Linked DNA regions of Homo sapiens: region 1 is linked to region 2. The links are contacts of gene promoters, found by promoter capture Hi-C in blood cells and fetal thymus (Javierre and others, 2016). All regions are on one chromosome and are shown on one strand. The core of a region is centred on a gene start or on the middle of the fragment in contact, and the rest is flanking DNA. Distances in the headings are between cores, read along the strand shown.

Region 1 (7,288 bases), core at 3,939-6,438, 2.0 Mb before region 2:
ATATGGAAATGAACATATTGCAAACCATTGGGGATAGGATGAATTTTCAACAAGTAGTGTGGGGACAATTGTGTATTTTAAGTAAAACCGTTACACTGGATCCCTATCTCACAGCATACAAATTAATTTCAAGTAAATTAAGGACATAAAAGGCTTCAACTTTAAAATAAGTAGGAAAAAAATATAGAAGAATACAACCAAGGCCTTGGAGAAAGGAAGAATTTCTTAAACAGAAATCACTAATTATAAAAAGACTAACAAATTTTACATTAAAAGTAACAACAACTATTAATCGAAAGATATCAAAGACCAGCCAAGATGTCTCTGGAACAGTCTTAACAGACAAAAACAGGCAAAGGACATGAACAGGTATTTCACAGAAGAACACACACACACACACTAGTAAAGGTTTGAAAAAAACAGGGTGCATACTCACCAATGATAAGAGGTGCACAAATCAGAAAATAGGATACCATTTCACACACACAGCAAAAATTTACAAGTGGGACGATACCATCCATTTAAGAGGACATAAAATAAAGAGGGTTGTTGGTATAATCACTTGGTAAAACAATTTAGTATGACCGAGTAAAGCTGAAGACGCACATACTCTGTGAACCAGATAATTCATTCAGTTATATTTGCTGAACGATTTTCTCTCTCTTCTTTCTTGAAAATGATACGGGTTGAGTCACAGTACATATTCCATGACCCACTACTGAGCTGTAATCCAGAGCCCAGCCTCTGGTCTGGAAAAAAAAAAGAAAAATCACTGCCCTAGAGTTGCCCCTTGCAAACTTTTTCTCTCAGGACCCCTTTACACTCTAAAAGATCTAGTGAAAAGAATGGCACTATTTTACATTTCTGCAGATCTCTTTAATGTTTGCTTTAAAAAAAGAATGCTGGATTCTCTTATCTAGTTCTGCATTCGCTCTGTTGGATATGTTATTTTGTTTGACTTATTAAAGATCTAGTCTACCACAAACGTGGTCATTACAGAAGGATCTTGTAGACTCTGAGAGGGTCTTGGAGATCTCCAAGGGTTGTGAGACCATACTTCGAGAACTGCACTCTAGAGAAACATTTGCCATGTACAGCATATAACAATGAATACAAGATTGTTTCTAATATCTGGCAAACAAATGAACAGCAAAACCCATTAAATCCAAAGCCCATTAAGATACTGTCATTTACTAGCTAGAGAACTTTGACTCAACCTCTCTGTGCCTCATTTTGCTCATTTGAAAAAGGAAATATTAATGCCAATCTCAGAAGGTTATTGTGAGGATTAAATGAGTTAATGCATGAAAAGGGTCTTTAAGGATTATGCCTTGCCAGGTAGTCCTATATAAATACCATACATTATAATCTTAAAATACGTGGTAGTGGGTGGGTGTGGGAAGGAGAAAGAAGACACAGAGGAACATGAAGGTATTCATTTTATTATTCTCAAAAAGTAAATCTTATATTTAATATTATAAAATGTATGATAGCCATAAAACATTTTTAAGGGAAATTAATATGGAGCTACTGTGCAGCTTGGTCGAAGGACCAAAAGTCAGAGGGACAAATCAAGAGATTAGGTCATTAATCACCAAGGTTATTGTGAAAATATTACAAGGCTGACATGAAAGACATTCTTGTGTATTTCAACACAATGCTGCCCATACCTCCATATGGAATTAATTTCATTATGCCCAATCATAGTTGCTTTCCTGCCTTTTCCACCAGTCGAAGTTTATCAATTCCAGAGCAATCACTCAATAAACGTTACCTAGAACCTAACTGAAACCTATCGCCCTACTTCCATGCTGTTCACATTTGAGATTTACATGGTCACTGCTTCCCAAAGACGGTTATTTATGAATCTACTTGTTAAAAATCTTTGCCTGTAAAGCATCTCAATGTACTTATAACTAGCTCCGTATGAGTTTATCAATGTCGAAAACAGTTGAATATAACAGTTGTTAATCTTCATAACCGTGAAATCTGAATACGAGTTGTGTTCTCAGTTCATGGTATAGTTTTAACAAGTTTTTTTTTTTTTAAATGTTGCCTACTGTTAAGATCAGCTGTTTGATAAGCTAAGTGCTTTTCCAACGCTGTTGGAAATGGCAGCCTTATTTCTGATGGGACATCTAAGCAGGACGTTTTCTTACGCACCAAGAAACCAACTAAATTTAGTCATTTTTGTTTTGAGAAACAGTAACTTCCAAAATAGACATTTTGATGTAGCAGATTGAGTTATGGTTGTTATACTTTGATTTGTGGAGGTTCCTAGATATTCTTAGTGTACCCTTGATATTTAGAATCCTATTAAAGCTGAGCTTAGCACAAAAAAAATATGCTTTCCTAATGAACAGTCTTTGGTATTTCTGTCAAGGGTACCGTATAAGTATTAACAGCTGACTATATCCCAGTGCCAATGCTCACCTAGGTGTCCTTGGCATAGTGCAGCTCAATTAAACGTTTATTTAATATTTTATTTTATGGAGACAGGGTCGCTCTGTCGCCCAGGCTGGAGAGCAGTGGCACTATCATACCTCACTTCAGCCTCAGTGATCCTCCCGCCTCAGCCTCACTAGTAGCTGGTATTACAGGCATGAGCCACGCACCCAGACTCAATTCAACATTTGTAAGAGTATTCCTTGTTCGGTCTCCAAGTGCTTAACTTTTGAGAGCCGTGAAAAGCCCTCTTCTCCCAAGTTTAATCACATCTCCTATAAAATCTCATCCATCTGCTGACACTTCCAATAGTTTTTTACTTTTTTCTTTTACTGACCTAATCCTGAATAACCTTAAATTGCTGCTTTCCTTACTTCTCCTTAACTTCCCCAGACCTCTCTGCAAACTTCTAATTCCCATTCGGCTGAAACACTGTAATACTTCTAGTCCCATTATTACAAATTCTAACAAGTCTCCAAAAGCTGAAACTGACTTCTCCAAGGTGACCAGGCTTTCTTAGCGTTTCCAACTCTTTCCCCCTAGATCCTAGAAAATAACTTTACCCTGATACTCTTCTAGTTCCTTCCCTCACCATCCTTCTTTTTTCACGTTTTTACCTACGTTTCCAATTCACCTCATCCAGCTCTACCTCCGTATTACTTCTTCTCATTCCGAACTATCTCAAGTTTCCTAAAAGCACCTACTGTTCTAGCACATACTCCAAAATTCCCGCACTGCCTTTTTCTCCTTTCTCTACTCTTGGGACAAGCAATCACAATTCCTTCGACACGCAACTAGCTCCATCTTCCCTTCTAGGAAACCTTCTCTAGCCTACCCAAGCACTGTTAATCACTCCCCTCTAGATTATTCTACTACGGTAGCACTTCCTAAACTATACTGCGCAGTAATCACTAATTACGTGTAGTTTCTCTTCAGTGTTTTTCTCCTTCAAAGCAGGGTTTCTATTCTGTTCATTTGGACCCTAACAGTATACCAGGCATCGAACATTTGCTAACTGGAGAAATAAGAGCTCCAACATTTACTTCCTATCAAAGCTTTCCAATGCCGCGGTTTTCAAAAACCTAAGCATTCGACACTCCAATTTGAGAAATACCAGTGAATACCAGTAACTAAACTGGATGGTGACATTTGATGAGGCGAAAACAATATTTAAAATCAATTCCCCCTGTCGCCTCTCCAAAAGGGCATTTCCACATTGAAGTTCCAGTAATTCTAGGTGACAGGAAGCGCGCGTTCTGGCTACGAGCATCACACAACGAAGTTAATGTGGATGGGAGTGGGAGGCACTGCAGGGATAGGAAACAGCATAAGCAACGACTAGTAAGCGCTCGAGAGACGGCGGACTACTATTCTGCAACGTCTCTTAAACACACTGGCGCGCCTCACCTGATCTGGCGAGTTTCCTAGAGGGGCCGCTGAACCCACGTGACCAAAAGAGCTACATTTTTGCAGGCCAGGGAGTGGGCAGTTATCCCAGCCGGCCCTTGGGAATGTTAGGCAACCGGGGTTGGTTGCTACGCCAAAAGGTGAATAAGGGCTGGGGAACAGGGGCGGCCAGCCCAGTTTCACTGGGAGCCAGAGGGTGCAGCTTCGACACAGCCACAGTGAATGGAAGCTTGGGGAGCGCGGGGCAATCTAGGCATTCCCGCCGACCTCCAGAATTGCGTCAGAAGCTGGACTGACAGCGCCCTGAAACGTGAGGAAACTCAAAGAGGCGCTTAGGGCCGACGTGGGGCCCACTCGCGCCAACTGCTTCTTACCGACAAGTGAGAACCAGAAGCCGCAGAGACAGACGCCGCCGCCATCTTTCAGCCTGCCCAGGGGGTCTCCGCACTTCGGGGGCGGTCTAGGTTCTCGTGCTCTTCTCCAAGACTCGGGAGCCGCCCACCAGCGGGGACCCTAGGCTGAACCCCTGATGGAAAAGGGCAAGGGTGCTGGTGCTGGGCTTGGAAACCCCTGCAACACACCCCCTCAGGGCCGCCTACGCTCACAGCTTACACAGAAAGGGCAACACGTCCTAACGGACGTCTTTCCTAGCCAATCAAAACAGCAGACGTCTTTCTGTAGTAGGAGAGAATCCGCCTCTTCCCTGGTGACGTCACAAGGTAGCGCGTAACGGGGCCCGCTGGGGCAGACAACGCCGGGGTTACAGGCCGGCTCTGCGGGGATTCTACGGAGGGTCGGGCCTCCTCCAGTAAGAAGCGTGGGCGAGTAGTGGTGTCGCCAGTGGCAACTGAAGGGAGTAATGGAGATAAAACAAAAGCGAAGGCGAAGTTAAAGCACTCCACGAGTTCCCTCGGATTAAACGCCGGAGAGAGCGTGAATTTGCCTCGGGGACGCCTCTCCAGGTGAAGTATTTACCTTTTGGCCAATAACAAATAGGATTAGGAGGGACTTAACGATTTAGTCCAATAGAAAGCAAGGGAAAAAAAGTTGCGGCAGAGAACGAGCCTTTCGCGAACATTTGCTCAATTGGATTGGGGCGCTCTCAGCCAAACCTGGGACTGGCTGTTAGAAATAGCCGCGACCGCAGACCTTTGGGCGGGGCAGGTTCAAAGCGGATTTCGCGCGCTGAGAGCTCCGGGATGTCATTGGCCGGCGACATCCTCCCTTTGTGGGCGCTTCCTGCGTCGCGGAAGTTGGGAGTTGGGAGGAGCCATCGAATGACGCGATAGCCTTCGCAGCCAATCAGGGATGGGAAAGGGAGGCCGAGAAGGAAGCGGATCCACGGCCGCACAGCTAAACAGCAACCCCCTACCCGCTTCGTCTCCCTCCGCCGCTATCGGGGCCTAAGCGGGAGCGGCTGGCACGGCGTCACTGGGTGGGCTGGGGCGGAAGTGGAGGCGGAGGGAGACGGTGGCGTCGTCCGCGGGGCCCTGGGCTCTCGCGGCGAGGCCCTGGTGGGCGCGAGGCAGGGGGAGGGGGAGGAGGAGGAGCCCGCGGCCCGGGCGGCGGCGGCTCTCGGGTTCTCCGTAGGGCCCCGCCTCGGAGCGGGCGGCGGCGGAGGAGGAGACTGAGGAGCAGGATGGCGGCCTCGGCCCTGTACGCCTGCACCAAGTGTACCCAGCGTTATCCTTTCGAGGAGCTCTCCCAGGGCCAGCAGCTCTGCAAGGTCCGTGGGCTCCGGGAGGCGGGCGGGATGGGTGTCCTCGGCCGTAGCCGGAGGGGGCCGGGTAGCCGCTGCACTGCAGCCCCTCTTCGCCGGCGCCTCAGGGGTTTGGGAGTCTGGAGCCCTCGCCTCCCCACTCGGGGACCCCTTTTTCTGGGGGCTTGAACATTAGCTGGGAACGGACCCTGAAAGGGAGGCAGAATCGTGCCCTTTTCCAGGCGGCCCAGGAGGGTGCCGGGCCCCGTCAGCGTCTGGGGGTCTCAGGAGTGGGGTTGAGTGAGGCAGCCACCTGTCTATGCCGCAGAGACCCAGGGGTGGAGATGTTTTCATCTCGGTTTTCTGCCTGGTCTGTCCTCTTCTTCCACCAGGAGGCAGGGGACGGTTTTTGCACTTTCTTGCTAGGAACCCGAAGCCGCAAAGCTGATGGCATCCTTCTTCCCTGTCCAGGAAAGCGAAGCGACTGGTTTGGGAACAGAATGCTCTGATTTGGAGCTCCTCCCATCCCATTAAAGCCTGGATGCTGTCTGTGAGCAACGGTGCAAAATAATAAGTAGTTTCACATTTAACCAATCCTTGAAATAGGCCCTGACAGCTTTCTTAATTTGTCTGTAATATACCCCCACGTCTACTAAAGACAAAGACACCTGTGCCTTCCCTAAGGAATTATATTGTGATTGGCCACTTATATGATAAAGCATCCAGTTCTTTACGTTGGGGCCAGGTTTTATAAATGTTTTAGACTTTCACTAGGTTGGGTAAACAGTTTTCTACCAGAAAAGTGAGATTTGGGACTTTCAGAAAGATACTGACTAATGTATTGTCTTATTACAGGAATGTCGGATTGCACATCCTATTGTAAAATGTACTTACTGCAGATCAGAATTTCAACAAGAGAGGTTTGTATACTGAATAGTTTTTGACTGTTAAAGACAAGTGTTGTCTTTATGGAATACTTGGGGGTTGTAATCCCATGTTTTTATGAAAGTATTTTTAAAAAATGGTTTAGCCCCAGAAATTTTAAGTTGTAAACCTTTTATACATGGTGGGAGAGAGAATGTTGCGAAAAAAACCAGTGGTGGTTAATTTACAGTTAGACTTTATATGAGAGAAGGAATAATACTACATGGAAAATGTACAGCCTTGCTAATGAAAATGCAAATGTAAACAGTTATGTTAAACTAAAAAAAAATGGTAAAGCCTTAATGGATCTGAGGAAAGGTCTGTAGTGTTACCAACTGCCTTCCAAGGTGAAAATCTAATAATTTGTTACATAGAAGAGGAGTAGTACGTAACATTTTTAACAGTTCCACTCTGAGAGTATATACAGAAAGTAGCCTCAGAAAAGAACAAATAATTTCTTCATAAATAGGTGTGGGCATTATAATGTTGGACAGTAGCCAAGTGGAAGGTTAGGTAGGCACTGGTATTGTAATGCTGTGCAGTAATAGTGTCAAGTGTGAAGATTTTGGAGCTATATAGGAAACATTAAGATGTTTTGTTTACAAAAAGTAATATGCAATAAAAATGTATAAAAACATTTGTCATAAGTTAATTTGGGTAAAACAACTCTGAAAATATCCTTGTATATTTGAAAAAAATCCGTGGTCCTTATTAAAGTTTTAAGTACAACAAATCTTTGACTCATTTTATTTTGACATTGTGCTAATTACTTTAGAAAGCTACATAAACATGATCTATATACAATTTATTTTT
Region 2 (6,945 bases), core at 1,194-3,693:
GGCCGAGGCAGGGTGGATCACCTGACATCAGGTATTTAAGACCAGCCTGGCCAACATGGTGAAACTCTATCTCTACTAAAAATACAAAAATTAGCCAGGCATGGTGCCGCACGCCTACAGTCCCACATACTAGGGAAGCTGAAGTGGGAGAATCGTTTTGAATCCAGGAGGCAGGGGTTGCAGTGAGCCGAGATTGCACCACTGCACTCCAGCCTGGCCGACAGAGCAAGACTCCATCTCAAAAAAAAAAACAAAACAAACCAAAAAAAGTTAAAATTAAATGTTGGCACATATTAAACTGCCAAATTGTCTTTCAGAATCACTACCAGTTCACATTCCTAACCCTGAATATTAACAATCTTTTCAATTTCTGTCAATTTTGTGCATGGAAAGAGTATCTTAATCATGTTTTAATTTCCCAGTCCCTAGTAATGAGATTGAGTCTATGTTCTGTTTATTGGTATCTGAAGTCTCTCCTCTATGAGCCTTCAGATACCTTTGGCCTATTTTTCCAAAGTGTCATTATTTTCTTTTCAGTCTGAAGGGACTTTTTGAATAGAGAAGATATCAACTAAATTTGTGTTATATGTGTAGAACTTCTCCCAGTCTGTCATTTATCTTTTTACTTTGCTTATGGCATCTTTTCCCATTATTTTTAAATTTTATGTAAGTAATATATCTATACTTTGTAAGGTAGGTAGGTGTGTGGTTGTGTGTGTGGATGTTAGAGTCTTGTTCTGTTACCCAGGCTGGAGTGCGGTGGCACAATCATAGCTCACTGCAGCCTTGATCTCACTGGCTGAATCCATCCTCCTCCCTCAGCCTCCCCAGTAGCTGGGACCACAGACGTGCACCACCACGCCCAGCTAATTTTTTTAATTTGTAGAGGCAGGAGCTCCCTATGTTGCTCAGGCTGGTCTTGAAGTCTGGGCTCAAGTGATCCTTCCACCTTGGCCTCCAAAAATGTTGGAACTACAGGTGTGAGCCACCATGCCTGTCCTGTTATTTCCGAAATTAAGAAGATCTATCCGACTCCCAGAATAATACAACTATTCTTTCATTATTTCTTCTAACACTTTGTTTTACTTTCTTCATTTGGCACTTCAATCCTCAAAAATTACTGTGGAAATAATTTTTGTGTGAGGTATAAAGTAGTATTTACCTTTTTTTGCAAATAGACCCCTAATAATCCTAACAGCACTGCCCTGAAATGACATCTTTAAATTCCCATTTACACTGGGTGTGCTGCATAACTAAATTAAGAATTTTGATTTTTTTTTCAAAAATCCTTGACAATAATGAGAATCTGAAACCCACTCATTATTTCTTCACTTCCCTCCTAGTCTCCTCCCTTCCAGTTTTGCTTTCCCTATAATTCATTTATTAGAAAGCATCTAGAGTAAACTTTAACAAAACCATCTCTACTTATCCTGCAAAAGCTTTCAGTGGTCTTAACACTAGTCAAACGCTTATCCCGGCCTACTGGGTTCTACATGATCTGGACCCGCCTACCTCTTGGACCTCGTCACACATTTCAGTCAAAACAGACCTCTTTTCTGCAGGTGCTACTATCATCATTCACACCGCACAAGGATGCAAAGTAACTCGCCCAAGGTCACACAGCCGGCAAGGGGCAGAGCCCCGATCTAGGGCTCTTTTAGCCACTAAGTGTGCTACATTAAAGGCCCTCTACAGAGAAGCATTCATTTAAACATTTCACGGTTTGACAGTGTCTCTAAACGCTGCCATTCAAGGAGACCCGCAGGAGTATTACGTAAAGTCGTGTCCTACCTTGTCCGGCAGCAACAAAAAGATGACGACCAAGTATCCTTACGCTTCCGCTAGAGGGACACTCAAAAGTTCTCGCACGCACAAGATCACCCCCATCGCGGGAGAGGCGGAGGCCCGCGCGGGTGCTGGGACCCAGACCGGGGGACTCGGGCAGCGGATGCAGGCCTTACCTTCCTCGTCGTCCTGGTCTGCGCTGGACCCGGCGCCCGGCCACTCCTGCGCGTCGCCCTCGGTCCCCGCCGCCTCCTCCTCCTCGGAGCCCGAACCCTGGCTGAAGTCTATCCGCTGGGCCAGACGCGCCAGATTCTGCGACATGGACAGCGGGGGCAGGTACGTCTCGGTGCCATCCAGGCCCACCTCATGGACCTGCTTCTCGCAGGCCGATTCGATGCTGATCCGCACTGCGCGCACCCCGGACATGCTGGCTGCGTCGGCCAGCGGTGGGAGGACCCCCCACGAGCCAAAAAACGAGGTACGAAGAGGAGGCTTCCCTGCGGAGAGCCGGGAACTCAGAAGCCCGCAGCCGCGGTGCCTCAGAAGACCCTCGGGAAACCGAACGCAACGCTCAGACTGGAAACAAAGGAGCTGGCCCAGCAACTTTCCCAGAACGCACCGCAAGCTCCCTCCTCGGTAAGTCTTTCGGAGCAAAACTGGGCAGGCGCGGAAGCTCCAGGGTTCCCTAGAGCGCTTCCGGTGAATCACGGTGCAGGGTGGGGTAAACTTCCGGGCCTATAAGAGGCGTGGCCGGCAGAGGGAGGGAAAGAGCGGTTTGGGAGCCGAGAGTGTGGCGGGTATATTCCTTGCTTTTTAAGCCTGCGTTTGTTTAAAAAGTGGATGAGGAAAGAAAGCTGCAGAGGCTAGAAGAGTTAAGGAAAAGGAAATTAATGGATCCTTGGATCTTAGCAATGAGAGTCCTGTTGAGAGAACTGAGATCTGGTGGCGCGCGCCTGTGGTCCAGCTACGCGGGTGGCTGAGGCGGGAGAATGGCTTGAGCCCTGGAGATGGAGGCTGCAGTGAGCCGAGATCTCACCGCTGCATTCCAGCCTAAGCAACAGAGTGGGATCCTGCCTCAAAACAAAAGTTATTTTAAATTAGCAAGAAATTTTTTAAAGAAACACTATCTGAAGAGTTAGAAATTAAGGGCATGGCTTGGGGGAAACAATCGTGCTTATCACCACTTAAAATTATACTACGTAATTATTTGGTTTCCTGTTAGTTATAACTCTATGACAGCCAATATCTGCAGCAGACATAATAGACTCTGGCATGTAGTAAGTGCTTAATATTTATTTTATGCCCGAGTAACAGAATAAATAATGTTGATCTCGCTTTTTTATTAGTGATGGGGTCCCACTATGTTGCCCAGGCTGAGTGCAGAGGTTATTCACAAGTGCTGTCAGCACGCTACAGCCTGGAGCTCCTGGGCTCCAACGATGCTCCTGCCTTAGCCTCCTGAGGAGCTGGGACTATAGGAGCGTGTCACCATGCCTGGCCTGCAAATAATATTTAAAAGATTAAGAAGAAGTGGTATAACTTCAGTCTTTGGGTCTCCAAGAACGTATTTCATTAGTAGGAATTCCACAGACAAAGATGGATTATTTTATATTACAAACCTCTATATTTCGTTTAAGGAATTATATATACCGTTTATCATGAGTGTTTGCCAGGTTTTGTTCTGACCAAGATATATCTAGGTTTTGAACTACTTTCCTAAGGTATTTAGGAAAATACGGTTGCCCTGGTGTCAGTCCCTGCTGAAGAAGAAAGTAGATGGCCGTGTGTGGAGGGGGTTGAATTTTCATGAGAGAAACCTATTTCTGGCAAGCTGTACAGTCTGTCGCCCAATCATGTTCGAGAACCACTGTACTTGCTTTTCGTGTAAATTTGTTTAAAAATTTTTTTTAACTTTATTTTAAAATCTGATTAATAGCCAGGCGCAGTGGCAGTCTAATAGTGCAGACAAAAACAAGACAACAACAAATGATTATGATTCCTAGAATAAGCAAAGCTTTTGCCACCAAGTCTTCAAGATCAAAACTAGCTGCTTAGCCAGTTGTTTAAAGATGTGTTGGATCTGAAAGGTTAGTTGTTAAGGTTTTCATATTATCCATTAACGTAGTGATATTATCTGATTCATCTGGGATACAGACATAACACACAGTTTTTATGATAATGCAAGTTCCTCCCTGGGCTTCGGTGAGTATGTCAAAAGCCATACGGTTTTGTAATAATGGCCTTTTCCATAAGAATAACTATTGTTTAATAATGGAATACTTATGTAGCTATCTTTTGGGTATAATTGGTTAGGACCTCTATATGCCAAATAACATCTTCAACACTCAGTTGTGGTATGAAGATGGAAGCTAAGTGATCATACCAATGAAACACAGGATGAACCCAATGAGATCATAAATAAGGAAAATTTGCAGGTTTTGGCAAAGTACAAACTACTCAAATATATGATTAAGCATAACCTGAAAAACATCATCCTAACTATCCTGGAAGTAACCATGGTCATAGGTTAGTGCCACATAGCCAAAATGTTCCATTTGGAGCTAATCAATAAATACATTAAATGGCATGCCAGTCAGTACTTTGTAATATAATGGTGTGAATACACAGTTCTTTGGGTATCCATGCCATATCTCCAGTGCTTTTGGGCCAGATATCTTTGGTATGATTTCTTTGTTCCCAACATAAAGGGGCAAAGTGGCCAGGCACGGTGGCTCACGCCTGTAATCCTCCACTTTGGGAGAATGAGGCGGGTGGATCACCTGAGGTCAGGAGTTCGAGACTAGCCTGGCCAACATGACGAAACCTCGTCTCTACTAAAAATACAAAAACTAGCTGGGCGTGGTGATGCATGCCTGTAATCCCAGGTACTCAGAAGGCTGAGGCAGGAGAATCACTTGAACCCAGGAGGCAGAGATTACAGTGAGCCAAGATCTCACCACTGCACTCCAGGCTGGGCAACAGAGTAAGACTCTGTCTCAAAAAAAATAAATAAATAAAAAGTTGGGGTGGCAAGGACAAGGTGGCTGGGCTGACAGAAGGAGGGATAAGCCAGATAAAACCATCCCCAATTTGTGTTATACCATTCTGAAATCAAGGTGTCTTATCTCTTAATTGGAACAGTGTCGTTGTTTCATTACTTAGTTGGGACAGTGCCAGCATTAAAGTTAACAAACTAGTTTCTTTTACTAAGAAGCTCCTTCCATGGCTTTTACTCTGTAAAGGTTTTGTTTCGTTTTGTTTTGTTTTGTTTTTGTTTTGTTTTTTGAGATGGAGTTTTGCTCTGTCACCCAGGCTGGAGTGCAGTGGTGCGATCTTGGCTCATTGCAACCTCCGCCTCCTAGGTTCAAGTGATTCTCCTGCCTTAGCCTCCCGAGTAGCTGGGACTACAGGTGCACACCACCACGACTGATTAATTTTTGTGTTTTTAGTCGAGACAGGGTCTCACTTTGCTGGCCAGGCTGGTCTCAAACTCCTGAGCTCAGTCGATCTGCCCGCCTTGGCTTCCCAAAGTGCAAGGATTACAGGTGTGAACTACTGCGCCCAGCCTTTAAAGTATTATTAATAGGCTAGTGATGTACTTTATCCTTCATCATACTACTGTCAAGCACCATGACTGTTTTTAAGAAACACAAATATATTTCTGATATTCTATGCAATATCTTCTCTCCTTGGAGCAATATATTTCTTTCCTTGGAGAGAAGATACCCACCAGGAAAGCCAGAACTACTGGAAAGGGGCATGAGACCACATGTTCAATCAGCATTTTTTTAAATAATCTATTAGCATAGTCCTAAGCCCATTGCAAAAAGAGGTTTGCTTTATGGGCAACAGTTAATGATAGTAGTGCCGAGACATGAAAACTAAGGACAAAAAGAAAGAAGTTTAATGGGAGCTTGTAAAGGAAAGTCTTCCCCATGTATTAACATTTGCTAATATTAAGCATTTGTTTAGATACAGGCCTGGTTTGGAGTCTTGGGTTTTAGCCACCTACATCAGATGTTATCTTGTTCTAGACCTGTCATTGACTTATTTTGAAACAGAGATCACCTTCTGGGGAAACAGTCCCTCAGGAGATGGAGCCCTCTTCAGATCCAGACATGGATCCAGGAGTCTATTCTAGTTTCTGTTTTTTGTTTTTTTGAGATGGAGTCTCATTCTGTCACCCAGGCTGGAGTGCAGTGATGCAATCTCAGCTCACCGCAACCTGTGCCTCCAGGGTTCAAGTGATTCTCCTGCCTCAGCATCCCCAGTAGCTGGGATTACAGGCAGGTGCCCACCATCACACCCGGCTAATTTTTGTATTTTTAGTAGAGATGGGGTCGCGCCATCTTGCCCAGGTTGGTGAACTCCTGAGCTCAGGCGATCCATCCACCTTGGCCTCCCAAAGTGCTGGGATTACAGTCATGAGCCACCACACCCGGCCAGGAGTCTATTCCTTCTAATATAATAGCAAAAGGATTACTAAGAAGCACTTGGTAAGAGCCCTTCCACTTGGTTGGAGACAGTCCTTTAGAGGATGTTGTTCCCAGTAGATACAGTCTCCTGGATGAAAATTGTGGGTCTTGAATTTTTCATATCCCAAGAGCCCATTAGGAAATAATCTTTCACTAGGTAATAATTTTTAGTTAATTATCTCATAAGGTTAGAACAACAAAGGAATATATCTCCTCTTACAGTTAAGGAGTTACCATTTCCTGGGACAGATTCATAGCTATGTGAGTTATTATTTCAAATGGGTACAACTGATGTATTCCAAAGGGGTTGATCTTGGGTTAAGCAAAGCCAATAGAAGCCTTTGGCCATGGGATCTTAAAAATTTGTGTTATTGGCCAGGCAAAGTGACTCACGACTGTAATCCCAGCACTTTGGGAGGCTGAGGTGGGCGGATCACAAGGTCAGGAGTTCGAGACCAGCCTGGCCAATATGGTGAAACCCCCTTTTCTACTAAAAATACAAAAATTAGCTGGGCGTGGTAGTGAGCACCATTCCCATTCACAATTGCTTCAAAGAGAATAAAATACCTAGGAATCCAACTGACAAGAGATGTGAAGGACCTCTTCAAGGAGAACTACAAACCACTGCTCAACAAAATAAAAGAGGACACAAACAAATGGAAGAACATTTCATGCTCATGGATAG

Evidence for each region. The method cuts DNA at HindIII sites, captures the fragments that hold promoters and counts their contacts. A CHiCAGO score of 5 or more calls a contact.
Region 1: a contact is called between the fragment with the promoter of FAM76B here and the fragment with the promoter of MED17 in region 2, in 2 of 17 cell types (monocytes and non-activated CD4 T cells). The highest score is 5.6, in monocytes.

Annotation. Positions count from the first base shown.
Region 1 is chr11:95,787,682-95,794,969 of GRCh38, reverse strand. It overlaps FAM76B (family with sequence similarity 76 member B), which reads left to right and starts at 5,188. Exons shown (of 10, transcript NM_144664.5): 1 at 5,188-5,578; 2 at 6,407-6,471. The coding sequence starts at 5,492. It overlaps CEP57 (centrosomal protein 57), which reads right to left and starts at 4,472. Exons shown (of 11, transcript NM_014679.5): 1 at 4,227-4,472. The coding sequence starts at 4,271. RefSeq lists enhancers at 3,564-4,227, 4,191-4,660 and a silencer at 5,161-5,580. The HindIII fragment of the contact is 14,564 bases long and covers 4,084-7,288 here.
Region 2 is chr11:93,779,780-93,786,724 of GRCh38, reverse strand. MED17 (mediator complex subunit 17) reads right to left here and starts at 2,443. Exons shown (of 12, transcript NM_004268.5): 1 at 1,962-2,443. The coding sequence starts at 2,211. RefSeq lists enhancers at 1-158, 2,167-2,386, 2,328-2,622 and silencers at 1,711-1,905, 1,907-2,036. The HindIII fragment of the contact is 2,360 bases long and covers 1,442-3,801 here.